2 separate regions of the Homo sapiens genome follow, and region 2 is linked to region 1. Evidence: promoter capture Hi-C in human tissues and cell types (Jung and others, 2019). All regions are on one chromosome and are shown on one strand. Each heading gives the region's core, a stretch centred on a gene start or on the middle of the fragment in contact. The rest is flanking DNA. Distances are from core to core; before and after follow the strand shown.

Region 1 (2,994 bases), core at 25-2,524:
ATACTCATCCCAACATACTCTCTTTCCGGACCAGCCTCGACCCCGGTAACTTCCCGGCCTTCTCCACTTCGGACCCTACCCAACATTTTCTGGCCTCCTCGCCCAAGTCTCCCCACGTCCCAAGCAGTCATCCCAAGCTTGTTCCAAAAGCCTCCTCTTCCGCACCAGCTGCTTGGGCACCACGGTTACTCCGGCCCGCATCTCAGCCCCCTCTGCATGTCCTCAGACCCTTCACCTGTCTCCCCAGCCAGGCCCTGACTTCCTAGTCCTCCTCCTGTGTCCACTTACCACCACCCCTCACCCGATGCCTAAGGCGGCCACTCCTCCCCATCCCCATCCCAACTCCATCGCGGAGCCTCTGACCCATCCACCCGGCTCTCCGTGTGAACTGTTCGGCCCTCCACCTTTCCCCACCGCCGGGAGGCCCTGCCTGCCCCGGTGCGCCTCTTCCTCGGCCGCCGCGGGGCCTCTCAGCGCCGCCTGCAGTCCCGGCTGAGCCCGCGCCCTCGGCCCGCGCAGAGCGACCCCACAGCACTCCCAGCGCTCGGCGTCCCCTCGGCCTCCCCCAGTCCCGGGCCAGCTCTCCCTGCCCTGACCCCGTCTCGGGCCTGGCCTCGCCCTCGCTGTCCCCGGCCTCTCCTCGGGTCCACTTGGGCCTCCGAGGCCCCCGGGGCGCCTGAGGAGCCGTCCGCCCGGGTTGTCCCTCCGTGCCCGTGGGCCCCTCCATGCCCCGGCTGCCCGTCCATGCCCCGTGGGCCCCGGCTCAGATGCCGAACGCCCCGGCTGCCCCTCCACGCCCCGGCCGCCCCTCCACGCCCCGGCCGCCCCTCCGTGCCCCGTGGGCCCCGCCTCACGTGCCGCCCGCCCCGGATCCCCTCCATCCCCGCTGGGCCCGCCTCAGGCACCCTCCGTCCCTGCTGCCCCTCCGTCCATCCGGGCCCTGCGTCCCTCGCCGCGCCGTCGCCCCGGCGGCCGTCCCCACCCTCCCTCCTCCCCGCTTCCGCACGGCCGCCGGACACTCACTACTCCTTGAGCAGCACCATGTCGCTTCGCGGCTCGGTGGCTGCCCGCGGCCCGCCCGGCCTCCCGCCCGCTGCCCGCCGGCCGCTCTCCCCGTGGCCCGGCCCGGCCCGGCTGCCTGTGCGTCTTCGTCGTGCTCTGCTCCGTCCCCGCCGCCCTCGCCGCGGTCGCCGCGCCGGCTCCTGCCGCCCGGGCCTCGTCGCCTCTCGCGCCGCTGCCGACGCCGCCCGGAGCTCCGGTTCCGCAGCGCCGCGCGGGGGCGGGGCGTCTCTGCGGCAACCAGAGCGTCACACGCCGCGGTGCGCGCTGACGTCACGCGGGGCCGAGCCTTCCCAGGCCCGCCCTCCCGTCCTTAAGTGGGCCGCGGCGGCGCTGTCGGTTCCGAGGTGGGGCCCCGCGGCTGGGGCCAGACCCGGCAGAAGGCGGAGCAGACTAGGGTGTCCGTCACCGTCCTCGGTGTGAACCGCCACGGATGCACGCGGGTGCTGGCTGGGGGGCCTCCCCGGTTGAGGGAATTGAGACCCAGGAAAAGGTTGTTTCAAAAAATATTAATAGCCGCGCGCGGTGGCCCACGCCTGTAATCCTTGCACCTTGGGAGGCCGAGGCGGGCGGATCACCTGAGGTCAGGAGTTCGAGACCAGCCTGGCCAACATGATGAAACCCCGTCTCTACTAAAAATACAAAAATTAGCTGGGCGTGGAGGCACGCACCTGTAATCCCAGCTACACGGGAGGCTGAGGCGGGAGAATCGCTTGTACCGGGAGGCAGAGTTTGCAGTGAGCCGAGATCGCGATCGCGCCATTGCACTCCAGCCTGGGGGACAAGAGTGAAACTTCGTCTCAAAAAAAAAAAAAAGAAAAGAAAAGGGCTGTGAGGCCGGGCGCGGTGGCTCCTGGCAGTAATCCCAGGCACATCATGCCTGTAATGCAGCACTCAGGCGGGCGCATCACCTGAGGTCAGGAGTTCCAGACCAGATGGCGAAACCCCATCTCTACTAAAAGTACAAAAATTAGCCGGGCGTGGTGGTGGACGTGGTGGTGGTAGTCCCAGCTGCTCGGGAGGATGAGGCAGGAGAATCGCTTGAACCCTGGAGGCGGAGGTTGCAGTGAGCCGAGATCGCACCATTGCACTCCAGCTGGGGCGACAGAGCGAGACTCTGCATCAAAAAAAAAAAAAAAAAAAAGAATGAAAAGGGCTGTGAGAAATGAGACACAGGCTTAGCGGCATTACACGGAGGGGCACCTAATTGAGCGTCAGGGATGTAGTCAGGGAAGGCTTCCTGGAGGAAGAGATTCTCAGATCTGCAGAGGGCTTCGGAGAAGAGCATAGCAGGCAGAGTGAATGCAAAGGCTGGAGGCAAGAGGGAGAGCATGGTGCATTTGGAGAACTGACAAGTGAGTGGAACAGAACATTTCAGGGCTGAGCAGCTCAATAGGGGAGGGTTCCTGGTGAACGATGATAAGGTATTTGGAGTCCACCCTAAGGGCGGTGGGAGGGCATGTAAGGGCTCTGAGCAGTGACATGAGCGGGTGTCCTGGGCGAAGGCTCACTCTAGTGGTTGGGTGGACAGAGGGGATGGAATGCCAGAGCGTAGGCAGGGAGACCGGCGAGGAGGCTGCTGCAGATGTCCAGGTGCAGGTGGACTAGGACAGTGGGAGGGAAGAAAAGGAAGGGATGGATTCAGGAGCAACTCAGAAGGTAAACTCCGTGAGACTTGTTGACTCATTGGCTGAGAGGAGGAGAGAAAAGCAGCGAGGTCTCTGGCCTGGGAGCCGGGGTGGACGGTACTGTCTTCTCTGAGAACACAGGCAAGACAGGCTGGCATGGGGGCAGGTAATGACTCCAGTGCTGGACTCACACTCAGCGCAGGACGCTAGAGGGGCATCCAGGGGAGATGGGAGTGGGCTGCCTAAGACAGGGACTTGGGAAGGGAGGGTGGAGCAGCTGGCCGTGTTGCTATCAGGATGTGACTGG
Region 2 (2,934 bases), core at 294-2,793, 840 kb after region 1:
CTTTTTTTCTTTTTTGAGATAGAGTCTCCCTCTGTTGCCCAGGCTGGAGTGCAGTGGTGTGATCTTGGCTCACTGCAACTTCTGCCTCCCAGGTTCAAGTGATTCTCCTGCCTCAGCCTCCGGAGTAGCTGGGATTACAAGCACGCACCACCACGCCCGGCTAATTTTTGTATTTTTAGTAGAGACGGGGTTTCACCATGTTGGCCAGGCTGGTCTCAAACTCCTGACCTCAAGTGATCTGCCTGTCTTGGCCTCCCAAAGGGCTGGGATGACAGGCGTGAGCCACCGCGCCCGGCTGTTCCTTAAGTTTCTTCATGGCTTCTGGGTGCTTAGTACCTTGGAGCAGGAGAAAAGCTGGGCTGTCCATCATTGTGAGTTTCTCACGAGAGGGTTTCCGTTTTCAGTCTTCCTCCCCGAGTCTTGTGCACCCCACCTCCCAGTTCAAATTCCATTATGTCCTCCAATTTTTTAATCTTTTATTCTTTTTTTCACCAACCACAATAAGAAGCACCAATTCCCCAATTTTTTAATATGCTGAGCCAGAGACATCCCCTTAGTGGAACTGTCTTCCTATCCCCCACCACTCACCTAACAAAGTATCAACTCCAAGAGCTATGAAAATCAGTGCCCTGACTCCTACAAAGCCTGAGTCATGAGATGGGGGAAAGGGCGTGAAGCCGAAAGTACAGATGTTCACAGGAAATCCCAACCCTTCAAGCCTGATGTCTCATCTTTTGCAAGCAGCTAAGGAGCTTTTCACATACCATCATTAAAACAAGACCCATGGGAGGAAGCTGGCTGCAGGATGAAGAGGAAAAAACAGAAGACTAGTACACTCAAGACATACCAGAGAAGATCCATTTCATAAATATTTATTGTGTGCCTGAGGTGCCAAGCACTAGGCTAGGTATGCTGTGGCCAAGGCCAGGGGACCTCTGGTAAGCCAGAGCGGGGCAAAAGCAAACAGAGCGGAACTCCACTCCACTGTGATAACTTGCAAAAGATTAGTTCTGCTGTTCGCCACCGTGCTGGATGCAGCACCAGAGACAGGACGACACGAGGACCCAGAGGGCGCCGCCATGCTCATTTCAGAAGGTGCAGCCTCCGTGTCCGTGGGTCCGCACCCATGGAGGCAACTAACCGTGGATCAAAAATATTCAGGAAAAAAAAATGGAAAATATACAAGAAAAAATAATACAAATTTAAAAACCAACACAGCACAAGAACTATTTACACAGCATTTACATGGTATGAGGTATTTGAGTAGCGCAGAGATGAGTTAAAGGATACCTGAGGATGTGCATAGGTTACATGTAAGGGATTTGAGCATCATCCATGGACAGGTATTCAGGGAGGCTCCAGGAACCAATCCCCATTGGACAGTGAGAAGCAACTGTAATTCCGTTTTTCTATGTAGAGATAAAAACAAATTCAGTGGATTTAAGGCTGGGCCAGTCAACTGAGCCTGATTCCCCCAGTCTGAATGATGAGTGGGACTCTGAATTCCTTTGACAGAGGTGGACCCATTCAATCATCAGTGAAATGGGGTCCCCACAGCCAAAAGTTTCCACAGGACTCTTTACCTCCTTTCCCCACCCCAAGTGAGTTGTCAGAGGACCTCTCCTGAACTCACAGAACAGGTCCAATCAAGTTCCACCTCCCCATTCATGTCCTTTCCAGAAGCTGGGCGCGGTGGCTCACGCCCTAAGTTCCAGCTACGTGGGAGGCTGAGACAGGAGAATCGCCTGAGCCCAGGATTTCAAGGCCAGCCTGGGCAACATAGCAAGATACTGTCTCAAAAAAAAAAAAAAAAAAATTGCAGCCTCACATGATGTCATAGCTGGAAGAGCTGGGATCATGGGGTCTGACCTCCCAAGAGAAGGTGTATCCAAGGTCACAAAGCTGCCAAGCATCAGCTAGGTTGAGAAGTGGCCTGGTCCTCCTCTTTGGCTGGCTGGGCCAGGCCTGGGGAAGTGCTATCAGTGTGGGGTGTTGAGTCCCTGAAAGCCTCCCAGAAGTGGGTGAAGATGGAGAGGGAACTCCACCCCTCCTCGTTAAAGACAGGAATAATCATTCACTTTGCTTAGTGGTCCCCAATAAACAAGCTTAGCAGATAAGCGGGAAGACAGGGAAAGGGAATCAGACTTGGGATCCAGGAGCTCGCAGGACCCTGTTCTGCCCCAGGCCACTCAGGAATGGAGAGCTGCTAGCTGGACCTGGGTAGGTCACCATTACTCACTGGGGCTTTTGTCTGGCATGAAAGGTGACGGGAGAAAGGGGCAGATTTTTATCCAGGCAGCCACCGTGGGTGTGGACACTGAGTAATAAGGAAAGAAATGCAGTTCAGAAGCAAAGAGGGAGGAGCCAGGTCCTCTGAGCTCTTCTGAGAAACCAGAGCCCAGTCGAGCTCTGCAGCTAGAGTGGCAGCTGCGGATGACAGTGGGTCAGAAGCTTGGTGGGAGGAGGCTGACCCAGCGGAAAGGCACAGGAGACGGATGACGATGTCAGGGATTCCTTTAAAGGAAAAAAGAGGTGGCTTTATGACAGCAAAACTAATTCAGGTCAAGGGAGTGGGACTGGGCAGAAGTTATGAGTAAAGCCGGGTGGAGTCTTGCCATGGGAGTCAAGAGTCCGCTGGATCACGCAGGGGTGGGGACATGGTGATAGGGAAGAAACCTCCCAGGACCGACGGGCTGCAATGTGATCAGTGCCCCACACAAAGGACTAAGGTCTATATCCCAGCAGCCCCAGTTCACACCCAAATGCAAGGCTGTAGCATCAAGTCTTGAAAGCCCAAGAGATCAGCAGCCTATGCCAGGAATGAGGCTCTCTCTGGAGGCAAGGCCGAGAGCAGTGGCCGGTCACTGGCTGCACAGCCCAGAGCAGATACCACAGAGCCAGGGCTCAGCTCCAGGTGCACTATGAGATCTCTCC

The links. The method cuts DNA at HindIII sites, captures the fragments that hold promoters and counts their contacts. A contact is called where the count stands out against the background at its distance.
Region 2: a fragment that was not itself captured here is called in contact with the fragment with the promoter of PITPNA in region 1 in 1 of the 25 tissues and cell types used here (spleen).

The regions. Positions count from the first base shown.
Region 1 is chr17:1,561,518-1,564,511 of GRCh38, forward strand. It overlaps PITPNA (phosphatidylinositol transfer protein alpha), which reads right to left and starts at 1,275. Exons shown (of 12, transcript NM_006224.4): 1 at 1,024-1,275. The coding sequence starts at 1,043. RefSeq lists enhancers at 228-327, 1,096-1,595 and silencers at 438-567, 1,048-1,097, 1,168-1,447. The HindIII fragment of the contact is 13,696 bases long and covers 1-2,994 here.
Region 2 is chr17:2,404,717-2,407,650 of GRCh38, forward strand. LOC284009 (a long non-coding RNA gene) reads right to left here. Exons shown (of 3, transcript NR_028335.1): 3 at 2,265-2,514. Among named protein-coding and RNA genes, the nearest start is that of MNT, 5.1 kb to the left of the region's middle. The HindIII fragment of the contact is 5,447 bases long and covers 1-2,934 here.